Regions from separate parts of the Homo sapiens genome. Here region 2 is linked to region 1. The links are contacts of gene promoters, found by promoter capture Hi-C in human tissues and cell types (Jung and others, 2019). All regions are on one chromosome and are shown on one strand. The core of a region is centred on a gene start or on the middle of the fragment in contact, and the rest is flanking DNA. Distances in the headings are between cores, read along the strand shown. Region 1 holds the start of PICK1 (protein interacting with PRKCA 1). Region 2 holds the start of CBX6 (chromobox 6).

Region 1 (6,157 bases), core at 1,419-3,918:
GCCCAGCTAATTTTTGTATTTTAGTAGAGACGGGGTTTCACCATGTTGGCCAGGCTGGTCTCGAACTCCTGACCTCGTGATCCACCCACCTCGGCCTCCCAAAGTGCTGGGATTACAGGTGTGAGCCACTATGCCTGGCCAATGCACGTTTCTTAACTTCTAGTGTGTTAGGTCGTTTTGTTGACTTCTCACAAGAACCCAGAGATGATTGTGTCTACATGTTTTAAATCCCCGCTTTCTAGGTGATGAAACTGAGGCCCAAAGAGGTTAAGTAACTTGCTAGTAAGTAGGAAAGAAGCTTGCATTTGAACTCAGGCCATTATTTCATCGTGTTCCTATGACACTTCATTTTGGCTAGTACGCAAGGCTGATGGTTTTGTTGATTCAATAGTCAATTTCTATTGCATGTCCACTATGTGCCAGGCACTGTACCTGGTGCTTACTGCAGTGAAAAAGCAAACCAGGACACTGCCCTCAGTGCAAAGAGTCTACTCTACTAGACAGAGGGCAAATAACAAGTAATAAGTGCCGAGAAGGAAAAAAACAGAGCGACACAGGGGAGAAGACAGGGCAGAGCAACGCAGCGCAGGTGGTCAGAAAGCCCCTCTGAGAGGGTCAGACCTCAAGAATGAGAAGGAGTCAGCTATGCAGTGTGGAGAAATGAACCTGCCTTTGTCATGCCCAAGTAGGGATGTACCTTGTGCCCCCCTCCAAAGCGCCCAATACCTGGACGATATAGAGGCAGGGACAGTACTGGGCCCCTCCTCCAATGCTGATCCCGATCAGGTTCTGAGCATCCTTCTGCAGGGTCACCTTCCCAGGCACAGTCGGGATTCCGCTAGAAAGGAAAGCAAGCTAGGCTGACTCTCCTGGCAGAAGGATGACTGGAGCGGGTGGGCCCTCTAAAACTCCTGAGGGGCTCCACTGGCTGCCCAGCTTTTTCTCTCCCTCCCTTGGACAAAACAACATTTTGTGCTGGAACATGCACAGCTCTTGGAGTTAAGCAGATGTGGGATCAAACCCCAGCTCTGCCATTTATCAGCTGTGGAACTTGGTTTTTTTTTGAGATGGAGTCTTACTCTTGTTGCCCAGGCTAGAGTGCAATGGCGCAATCTCGGCTCACTGCAACCTCCGCCTCCCGGGTTCAAGTGATTCTCCTGCCTCAGTCGCCCAAGTAGCTGGGACTACAGGTGCCTGCCACCACGCCTGGCTGATTTTTTTGTATTTTTAGTAGAGACGGGGTTTCACCATGTTGGCCAGGCTGGTCTTGAACTCCTGACCTCAGTTGATCCGCCTGCCTCAGCCTCCCAAAGTGCTGGGATTACAGGCGTGAGCCACCGTGCCTGGCCAGCTATGGGACTTGGGTAAGTCAGCCTCTGTGCATCTCAATTTCCTCATCCATAAAATGTGGATGAGCACCCTTATCAGAGTTCTTCTAACCATGCATGGAGGGCACTAACAGCAACCCAGTCCATAGCAGGCACTCCATAAAAATAGGTCCCCCTTCCCTTTCATTTATTCGATCTCTGAGATTTGAGCCAGGTTCTGTCCTTGTCACCTTATCAGGCATCTATGTAGTATGATGGCCACCTACTCCAGGGAGTCTTCCTCTATTAAACTGTCCACCTCCCACCTCTCAACTGCTCGATTACCTCTCGGTTTCCACTATAAATTAGCATTGACTGGTGTTTTATGATAAGTACTCACGCTGATTCACTTATTCATTCAAAAAACATTCGCTAACAACCTACTGACGTCAAGTCCCTTACTAAGTGCTGAGCATAGAGAAAGGCATTGCACCCACTCCTTGATCTGAAAGAGGATATATTCTAATGGGAAAATCTGTCCTACTAACAACCTATGTTGGGAAGGAAGGGTGTCTACAATATTCCTATTCAACCTTCAAAACCTGGTTCAATTGCTACGTCCTCCATGAAGCTTTCCTTGACCATCCCAGCAGAAGCACTGCTCCATCTGCTTTGCTCTTCTTGTCACCAAGTCATGCTAATAGTGCCCTTATGGCACTGAGCTGTGATTATCCCTTTAACTGTCCACAGCCCCCTACAAATAGTGAGCTCCTGGGAGAGCAGGGTCCATTGCTGCTTCAGTACAACAACTGATCCACCGCTGAGAAGCAAGGGTCTGTGGGACTGGGAAGTCCAGGGAAATGAGGAACTTGGGGCTCCTATACTGCTGGAACTTGGGGGAATAAAATACTCACAGTTTATCCTCTTCGATGTCATAATCCAAGTCTGCAAACATGGTTCCGAGAGTTGGAGTGGGCTGGCTAACTGCCCAGCTCGGTAGGGGAATGGGGAACTGGATCCGGGAGAGAAAGGAGCATAGGATTTAAGGAACCCAAGTGCCTAAATGCCAACGCCACCCCTCCCTCCACCACCTCATACGGGACAGCAGTGCCCTCCTCTTCCCTCTGGAGTGGGATGGGACAGTCTCCGGGTGGGGGGCTGGGTAGGTGATTCTTACTAGGTACAAAGGGGGGCTCCAGGCCAGGGCGATAGGCTCAGATCCCAGAGTCCGCCCCACGGGTCTCCAGGCCCTGGGGAGCTGCCTCTGTCGCTCACCGGAAGCGTTGGTCCCACAGCCGGGTCCCGGCCAGGCTGGTACCTGAACCCACCTGCCGTTCCACCTGGCGGTGGCCGCGATTGTCACGTCACTTCCGGCAAGACGCGGAAGTCCCGGCTTTCCCCCCACTGGATATTTGCTCCAATCCCTGCAGACAATCCTTCCCTTCCCGGCTCCCGGGACGCTCGGAACCAAGAACGAGAACAAGTATTGGCGGAAGCTCGCTGTTAGTAGGAACAAGCGAAAACAGAGGAACGGTCTGGACAGGCTGACAGCGTCTAACCCCGCCCTTTGCCCTGCCGCCGCCGCCATCTTGGGAAGGGCAGGGTTTGTCCCAGCTTCCTCAGCTGCACTCAGGGGCCCGCGCCGGCCCGGCGGTTGCCATGGCAACGAAAGCATCCCTGAGCCGGGGTTACCTCCGGCGAGGCTCAGTGGACTATAAACCCCAAGACATCATGCCCTTTCACCCCTTCACCACCTGGGCCTGTGACTCCCCTACTAGAATGGCCCTTTGAGGTCCCAGCCCATCCCAGTTTCGCCAACTTAAGTGCCAAAGAGCGGGGAGTGATTTTGTGCGGGGCCACACACAGTTGGTGTAAGATCTGGATCGTGGCCCTGAAACTCCCGCCGCCTAGTCTAGGGATCTTTGAACGTCCAAACACTAAACAGAGAGCCAGGAGAGGTGTATTCAGTGGGTCTTGCTATTAAGGACAGACTGGACATGCTCCCTTCCCTTTATGTGCCTCAGTTTCCCCATATGTAAACCAAGGCCATTGAGGTAAATGCTTTCTATGGTATATGGTGAAAGGTTTCTCACACCCCCTCCTCCTTCCTTAGTCCTGAGGAGCAGCCCCCCTGGGGTCCCAGGGAGGGTCACGGTCCGCATGTACCTGAGGCTCGGGAAATGCTATCAGTGCTCCCCAGAGTCCGAATCTTGTCTCCTCGCCAGCCTCTGCTGCCACTGCTATTGTGTAAAGTGGGTTCCCTGGGGGAGGTTGGCTCTCCCAGAGCCACAGCCAGGCATCCACCTCATCCGGCAGCATGGGGCCAGGCCCATCCAGCTTGCTTCCCCAGCTGCCCCAGGAGCCATGGAAGAAAGATACAGAAGGATGATTATCCACATATCCCACGGCCGGTGGAAGCCCCGCCCTACTCTCTCCTTAGGTGGCTAATTGAGTCCGGACAGATGTGCAGAATGCCGTGACAATAACAGCCTTCCCACGTGTCCACTGCTCTCCTGTGAGATCACTTTCACAGGATTTGAAAGCTCACCACCACCCTGTGAGAGAAGACCAAATCTTGCCAGCCACATTGTGCAGGCAAGGAAACGGAGGCCCTGGGAAGCCTCTTCCTCTGGTATCATAGCGGCAGGGCTGGGGCTGGGAAAACCAAGCTCTGTTTCCAGGCCAGAATTTTGGTTTCAAAAAGCAGCAGTCTAAGGCCAGGTGCGGTGGCGCACACCTGTAATTCCAGCTATTTGGGAGCCTGAGGCAGGAGAATCGCTTGAAAATAGGAGAGGGAGGTTGTAGTGAGCCGAGATCAGGCCATTGCACTCCAGCCTGGGCGACAGAGAGAGACTCCGTTTCAAAAAAAAAAAAGGCAGCAGTCTCCAAACCCAGGTGCCTTAACATGGATTGTGGCTCTTCCAGCCCATGACCATGCTAGCTCAGGCCCAGGCTCTGCCATTTTGTAGCTGGGAGATCTTGGGTGAGTCGCTGTCTCACTCTGAGCCTCAGGTACGTGTAGAATGGGGAAATGACACCTGCCACCAGGTATTTGTGAAAGTCAAGATTAAAAGGAGAGGCTGGGCGCGGTGGCTCACGCCTGTAATCCCAGCACTTTGGGAGGCTGAGGAGTGTGGATCATGAGATCAGGAGTTGGTATAAGATCTAGATCATATATCTGGACCAGCCTGGCCAACATGGTGAAACCCCGTCTCTACTAAAAATGCAAAAATTAGCCAGGCATGGTGGTATGCACCTGTAATCCCAGCTACTCAGGAGACTGAGGCAGGAGAATCGCTTGGACCCGGGTGGCGGAGATTGCAGTGAACCGAGATCGCGCCATTGCATGCCAGCCTGGGTGACAGAGCCAGACTCCATCTCAGAAACAAAAGATTAAAAGGAGAAACAGGTGTGAGTGCTTTGTAAACAATTTGCATGGCACAGCTGTCACTCTGACCTCAAAACCCCCTACCCACTCTGGCCCTTCTTCTCAGGTTGGGGAAGATGCCCCTGTTTTCTGCCTTGTTCATCCCTTGCCTGCAGGCTCCGCTCTAATTCACCTCTTCCCGGCAGCCTTAGCAGACAATCTCAGCTCATATATCTTGCTCCCTTTTCTGAGCTGAGCTCCTGAGCAGTTGCTATTTGAATCATTTGTTCAGCAATTTGCTGTGTATTTGCCTTGTGAAATCTCTTCATGGTTTTCCTGAGCCAATTCTGCAGTGATTAATTTATTACATGCTTGTATTTTGTCTGGCAAGGTTTTTATCCCCTTTAAATTTGGGGCTTACAGCTCATAGCTACGCCTGGCTAATTTTTGCAATTTTTTTCTTTTCTTTTCTTTTCTTTCTTTCTTTTTTTTTTTCTTTGAGATGGAGTCTCCCTCTTGTCGCCCAGGCTGGAGTTAAGTGGTGCGATCTCAGCTCACTGCAACTTCTGCCTCCCGGGTTCAGGCGATTCTCCTGCCCCAGCCTCCTGAGTAGCTGGGATTACAGGCGCCCACCACCATGCCCGGCTAATTTTTTGTATTTTTAGTAGAGACGGGGTTTCACCATGTTGATCAAGCTGGTCTCGAACTCCTGACCTCAGATGATCCACCCACCTCAGCCTCCCAAAGTGCTAGGATTACAGTTGTGAGCCACTGCACCTGGCCTTTTTCTCAACTTACTTTCTAATCTCTGGCACCCCCATCTTCCATAGTATACTTAGAATCCATCAACAGGTGTCATTGTGACAGACAAGAAAAAGGAAATCAGATTGCTTTGTAATACTGTTGGTGTGAAAATGTCACAACCTGCTTAGCTTTTTTAGCAGAGGGGGTCACTGGAATCAGCCCACACAGCAGAGGAACATGTCCCAGTCAATTGAGGGGGTCTGGTTGGGACCAGGAATCTATTTGAGGGAAAAGAAAGTTCAAGTACCTTATTCTATCACCCAAGTAAGCACTTCTTGTTTTTCCAGCTGGACAGGAAGCCCCTGGTTCGGGGCCAGGTGCTCTGTTTTGCCCTTCTCTGAATTGGCCACGATGTCCAGCGCAATACCTGGCTGCAAATCTGGTGCTTGCAGAAATCGCTGCGGCTTTAGTATGAGATGAAACTTTCTCTGGATCCAGGAGGAGAGGACTTGCATGAGCAGAGGGGGTCAAGAGGGTTGGGTGTCTCAGGGAAGAGATGAGGAGGGCCTCAACAGGGACAGTGGCAGTGGCCTGAGTTTCCTCCACAGGGCTGGAATCACCAGGCCGTGTCTAGGTCCTGAATTTTGGTTTTGGAAAAACAGCATCCTTCAAACCCAACAGCTGTAACAGAGATTGGAGCTCCCCTAGCCCAGGGTGGCTCCAGCTCAAATCCCAGCTC
Region 2 (6,090 bases), core at 3,586-6,085, 810 kb before region 1:
TTTGGGAGGCCGAGGCGGGCAGATCACGAGGTCAGAAGATCGAGACCATCCTGGCTAACACAGTGAAACCCCGTCTCTACTAAAAATACAAAAAATTAGCCGAGTGTGGTGGTGGGCACCTGTAGTCCCAGCTACTCGGGAGGCTGAGGCAGGAGAATGGCATGAACCCAGGAGACAGAGCTTGCAGTGAGCCGAGATCGCGCCACTGCACTCCAGCCGGGGCGACAGAGCGAGACTCCATTTCAAAAAAAGAAAAGAAAAAAAAAAGAAAGACAGTTGTTGCCTTTTTTGGGGTTGAAATTTGAACCCAAAAAATCACTAAGTCAAGCTGGGGACTGCATCAGGCAAACTTGGCTCCCATTTTTTCCCCAAATAAGATAGTTACAAAGATTAAAAAACTACATATCTCCTTCAGAGTTTGCCCCCAAGGAATTTCCATGTGGGCCTCAGCATCTTTACCCTAAAACAGTTCTGTTGAATTTCACCTTGGCAATGTAAATTGATAGTTTATCTTAACAGATGCGGGACAAGGACAGAACTCAAAGTCATCCCTCTTCCCACCCGAGACAAATGCATATCTGATTGCTTCCTCCGCCTGTTGCTTATGTAAAAATGCAGATTCACTGAGACAGACTGAGGCATAAGTGACTCTTCCTCTACCCTCCTCACATGTAAATTGTGTACTCAGTGAAAGGCTGATCAGAATCAAAATAATACAACCTTTTGTCTCTTATCTACCTACCACCTGGAAGCCCCCACTTCGAGTTGCCCCACCTTTCCAGACTGAACCAATGTACATCTTAAATGTACTGATTGATGTCTCATATCTCCCTAAAATGTATAAAACCAAGCTATACCCCTATCACTTTGGGTACAAGTCATCAGGACCTCCTGAGGCTATGTCACGGGCACGTCCTTAACCTTGGCAAAATAAACTTTCTACATTGATTGAGACTTGTCTCAGATAGTTTTGGTTCACAATTTCATAGGAAACTGATTTGCCCTCTGTCTGGGCAACAACTCACACAGGCTAAGAGATCAATTTTTTTCCTTTGTGATGTTACACCAAACCTCAGAACTATAGACTGTCAGAGGTGGAGGGGATTTTTTTCTCATAGAATAGAGACTATCTTCTCCAGGTGCTCATAAACAAGGGAAAAGCATGTGAGAAGTCCATAAATCTCTCCAAAATTTTGGAATGACTTGGAAATAACAGATTTTCAAAAGAGTCACCTGCAGCTTGTCGCAGTGGCTCACGCCTGTAATCCCAGCACTTTGAGAGGCCAAGGCGGGCGGATCACGAGGTCAGGAGTTTGAGACCAGCCTGGCCAACATAGTGAAACCCCGTCTCTACTAAAAATACAAAAATTAGCCTGGCAAGGTGGCGCGCCTATAGTCCCAGCTACTCAGGAGGCCAAGGCAGGAGAATCACTTGAACCTGGGAGGCGGAGGTTGTAGTGAGCCAAGATCACGCCACTGCACTCCAGCCTGGGCAACAAAGGGAGACTCCACCTCAAAAAAAAAAAAAAAAAAAGTCACCTGCCAAAAAATATAGAGCATGAAAAAGGGCCAGTTCCTCCCCCATTTTTGAAGTTGAAAAACTAAGATCCAGAGAGTAGAAAAGGACTTGTACAACATCACACGATTACCAAAAGAAAAGGGATCCAAGCCTGGCTGCCCGAATTCCCACTTCATCTCATCACATCCCTCCTCTACTCAAAACTCCCTCACGCTTCCCACTGCCTGAGACAAAGTCCAAACCTACCCAGCATTCAAGGCCCTTCCCAAGTTCAGTCCAACCCATCTTTCCATTGCCATCCTTTGCCGTACTGCCCCAACCCATGCCATAGCAGACTTCTTTCCCATCCCCAAAACACACTCTCAGGCTCTGATGTGCTTGTTCAAGTTGACACCTCCACCCGGGACACCCTTCCCATTCTTCACTTGTAGGCCAATTCCCATTTGTCTTTCCGGCCCCAAATCAGAGGTCTCCACCTCTGAGAAGCCCTCACAGCCTCACCTCCACGTGGTAGGTTGCTCCCCTATGTCCACTCCCAAGACATCCTGTACAGACTCTTGTGGCAGGCTTATAATGCCTCCCCGAAAGATGTCCGTGTCCTAGCCCCTAGCCCCCAGAACCTGTGGATAGGATACCTTACTTACCATCCATGTTACCCTATGGTAAGAGGGTCTTTGCAAATCTGATTAAGTTGAGGTTGAGACGGAAAGATCATTCTCAATTATTTGGGCAGACCCAATGTAATCACAAGTGTTGTTAAAAGAAAGAGGCAGAAGCCAGGTGCGGTGGCTCACGCCTGTAATCCCAGTACTTTGGGAGGCTGAGGCGGGTGGATTACTTGAGGTCAGGAGTTCGAGACCAGCCTGGCTAACATGGTGAAACCCCCATCTCTACTAAATACAAAAATTAGCCGGGTGTGGTGACGCATGCCTGTAATCCCAGCTACTTGGGAGGCTGAGACTGGGAGAATTGTTTGAAACCGGGAGGCAGAGGTTGCAGTGAGCCGAGATTGTGCCACTGCACTCCCACCTGGGTGACTGAGCAAGACTCCATCTCAAAAACAAAAACAAAAGAAAGAAAGAAGCAGGAAGTGAGCAAAGGGATCGTGGAAACAGAGATTTGAGTGATGAAGCCATGAGCCAAGAAATGCCAGCAACATTTGGAAGCTGGATGAGGCACGGAACAGATACTCTCCTTGACCCTCCAAAAAGGGACCAGCCCTGAGGATACCTTCACTTGGGCCCAGTAACACTGATTTGGGACTTCCCGCCTCCAGAGTCATCAGATAACAAATGTGAGTCATTTTAAGCCACTGAGCTTGTGTTAATTTGTGAGAGCAGCAACACGAAACTCCTACACCTTTATTCTAGCATTAGTCACACTGTGTGACAGGTGCCGTTCTCACTCCACTGACAGCTCCTCAGCCTGGGGCACCTTTGTTTCCTGATGGTTTCACACAAAGCCTGGTGCTTCACAAGGGCTCACAAACACTGCTGAATGAATCAACAAGTGGACTCACCTGCTTCATCCCCCGCCTGTCTCCGTCAGCCTGAACACACACACACTGTCATACCCACTCCTCTCACCTGCTCACCCACCACCACCCACATCTCCCAGGAGGACATTTCTATTTTTACCACAGCAGCTCACCTTGGGCTGGCCAGCAAATAGCTGTTTCCCTGGAACATACTGATTTTAAGTGAGGAGAGGGATTTCTCTCAAGGTAATAATTGGACAAATCTGCTGGGAGAAAAAGACTAACATTTTGCTATGGTGGATTTGAAACCCAAGAATTGGCATTGTAGCACAGAAACGCAAAAATCTTTCCTAATGAGCCATTGATGTTCGCAAGACACAACCCTGACTCTTCACAATCCCCATTCCTCCCCACCCCATCTCAGCCCCAAGGTGGTCACTGGAAGGATGGTGAAATCTGTATTTAATGACACTGAAAGATGTCCACTTTATAGCATTAAGGGAGAAAAGCAGATTCCAGAACAGTGTGAATAGCGTGATCCCATTTTGTTAAAAAATTAAATCTACAGACAATGTGTATGTGTATGTATATACATACATACATAGGTGTACGTGAGTTTATGTACGCATAGAGCAGAGGCTGGAAGATTGGTGAAGATGTTAACAATGGTTTTATGGGGGTTATGGACAGTTGTTTTATCTGTATTTTTAAAATTGTTTTACAAAGAACAAGACTACTAACATAATGGGAAATAAAGTTCAAGTAATTTCAACATTTAAAAAGTGGAGCGTTTTGCGCGGCAGGGCTATTTTTTGTGTGTCCGTTCCTGGACAGCCCCAGCTCGATCCCCCGCCCCTCCTCAAGTGGGAAGCTGGGATCTGGGCTCCCCAGAGCAATGGCGGAAGCTTCGCGCAGCTGCGGGCGGGGAGAGGGACGCGGCCAGGTCGGGGGGCCGGGAGGGGTGCTGGGAATCGGAAAACACAGATATGACCGCGAAGGCGGTTTCTGCCGAATGACCAGATGATGACCCGCTGTGGGCCCAAGGCGGAGTGCGGGGAGCCCGTTCCTGCCCGCGGTCCCTCTCCCTCCCCCACTGCCACACCGGCCCCGCCGAATCCTCCCCGGTCTCCTGGGCGAGGACAGGTGCCGCCCGAGACCCCGGCCGCAGACAGATGCCCACGGTCACTCCGGCCTTCCTCGGCCCCATTCGCCGCACACCCCCTTCCTGCGGTGGCGTTTTTGTTTTAACTCTTCTGAACTGGTTACAAAACCACCCTCCCACGAATACATAAATAATGGGTGGGGGGCGATGTTTTAAAGAAATTCCCGCAAGGCCTGGCAAGGCAACAGCAACTGCATTTCTGCTGCATCATATTTAACTGTTTGCAGGCTGCTGCGGGAGATGCGCGGTGGCGGCGAGACTCGGGCTCCACAGCCCTTCTCCGCCCGGGGCCTGGCGAGACTCGCGTGGGGATTAAGAGGCAAGGAGAGGGTGTCAGCGATCGGGCGCCGGCAAGATGTGAGGGGGGGTGATAAGCGTAAGGCCGCAGCGTGCCCACAAGCCGGGCACCCATCGGGTCGGCCGGCAATTGCTCCCTCCGCCCGCGCGGCCCCTTTAAGAGCCAGCGCGCGCCCCCGCCCCGCGAGCGCCGACTTTCCCTAGCAACCGCCCCGGGGGAGGGGGAGGTCCTGGCAACCGCGCGCCAGCCGCGAGGATCACGTGACGGCCCGCAGCTGGAACGCGAGCGCGCGCCCCGCCGCGCTCCCGCCCGCCGGGGCCTGGGCGCTGCGGCGCGTGCGCGAGCGGTGCCGCACCGGCCGCGGGCGCAGGGAGTATTATGGGCTGTGGGTGCCGCTGAGCAAGATGGAGCTGTCTGCAGTGGGCGAGCGGGTCTTCGCGGCCGAATCCATCATCAAACGGCGGATCCGAAAGGTGAGCCGCCGCCCGGGGCGGGCCGCCGCTGTCCGCAGCCGGGGCCGGGGCCGGGGGCCCTCGGGGCGAAGCGGTCCCGCTAGCCCGGCTCCCTCGCCCAGCCCCGCGCCGCCGCCTCCTCGCGTCCCCGCATCCTCCCCACCCCCACCCCCGTTTTTCTCCCCTCTGTTTTTCAGGGACGCATCGAGTACCTGGTGAAATGGAAGGGGTGGGCGATCAAGTGAGTGTCGCGGGGTCCGGGGGCGTCGCGGGAGGGGAGGCAGCGGGCACCGGGGCCTGGGGTGGGGGTGCGCGCTCTTGCTCTCGCCGCGTGCCTGTCCCTCTCTGGTCTTCATCCTGATTTTGTGCGTTTGTGACTCGGCAGGTACAGCACTTGGGAGCCCGAGGAGAACATCCTGGACTCGCGGCTCATTGCAGCCTTCGAACAAAAGTGAGTTGTTGGGGAAGCTGGCAGGGGCTGCGAGGCCGAGGCTCGGCTGGGGCGCCGCGCGGGGAAGCGGGAGAGCCGGGGAGGGCAGCGCGGAGTGGGGCCCGGGAAGGGGCTCTTTTTAACCTCTGGTGTTTTTCGGCCGCAGGGAGAGGGAGCGTGAGCTGTATGGGCCCAAGAAGAGGGGACCCAAACCCAAAACTTTCCTCCTGAAGGTAACCTGGCCCAGCCCCAGCAGCATCCCCCTCTCGGGCCCCCAGCCCCGGCACAGCACGGGGCCTGGAAGGGAGGGACAGATACGCGGCCGCCCAAGCGGGCCGGCCTTTTCAGAGGGGCCCCAGCTGGGCAGGGGGTGGTTGTGAGCCCCCCCAGAAGCCCCTGATGGCAGGCCTCAGCCAGCATCAGCTTCAACAAGAGGGTTTTGGGACTGGGGATAATCCTCCCTGTTGAAACCAGGGGCTGGGGATGCCTTTAGGGCTCCAGGAAAGGGGGTGGCTGAGGCAGGTGGGGGATGCCCATGGGAAGGGGGCATTTGTTTGAGCTGTTATGACTGTGCTGGGAGTTGGAACCCAGGGGGAGAGTGAGTGGGGTCCCACCTCCTGGCAGGGCACAAGGAGAGGATTTGGGGGACCACCTGCCTCCCTGCCCCCAGCTTCCCCCGTTCAGTCTTTCAGGATTTGTTCTTCATGGCTCCCCTCCTTTCTTGGGGATCCAACTTGAATTTGACCTCAAAT

What was found. The method cuts DNA at HindIII sites, captures the fragments that hold promoters and counts their contacts. A contact is called where the count stands out against the background at its distance.
Region 2: the fragment with the promoter of CBX6 here is called in contact with the fragment with the promoter of PICK1 in region 1 in 2 of the 25 tissues and cell types used here (hippocampus and lymphoblastoid cells).

What each region holds. Positions count from the first base shown.
Region 1 is chr22:38,053,915-38,060,071 of GRCh38, reverse strand. It overlaps PICK1 (protein interacting with PRKCA 1), which reads right to left and starts at 2,668. Exons shown (of 13, transcript NM_012407.4): 1 at 2,485-2,668; 2 at 2,222-2,319; 3 at 727-838. The coding sequence starts at 2,262. RefSeq lists enhancers at 1,967-2,590, 2,835-2,894, 2,591-3,216. The HindIII fragment of the contact is 14,484 bases long and covers 1,119-6,157 here.
Region 2 is chr22:38,870,961-38,877,050 of GRCh38, reverse strand. CBX6 (chromobox 6) reads left to right here and starts at 4,835. Exons shown (of 5, transcript NM_014292.5): 1 at 4,835-4,929; 2 at 5,106-5,149; 3 at 5,294-5,359; 4 at 5,505-5,571. The coding sequence starts at 4,861. RefSeq lists enhancers at 2,497-2,676, 2,493-3,692, 3,529-4,078, 4,079-4,629 and silencers at 4,624-4,883, 4,914-5,063, 5,164-5,213. The HindIII fragment of the contact is 23,948 bases long and covers 1,781-6,090 here.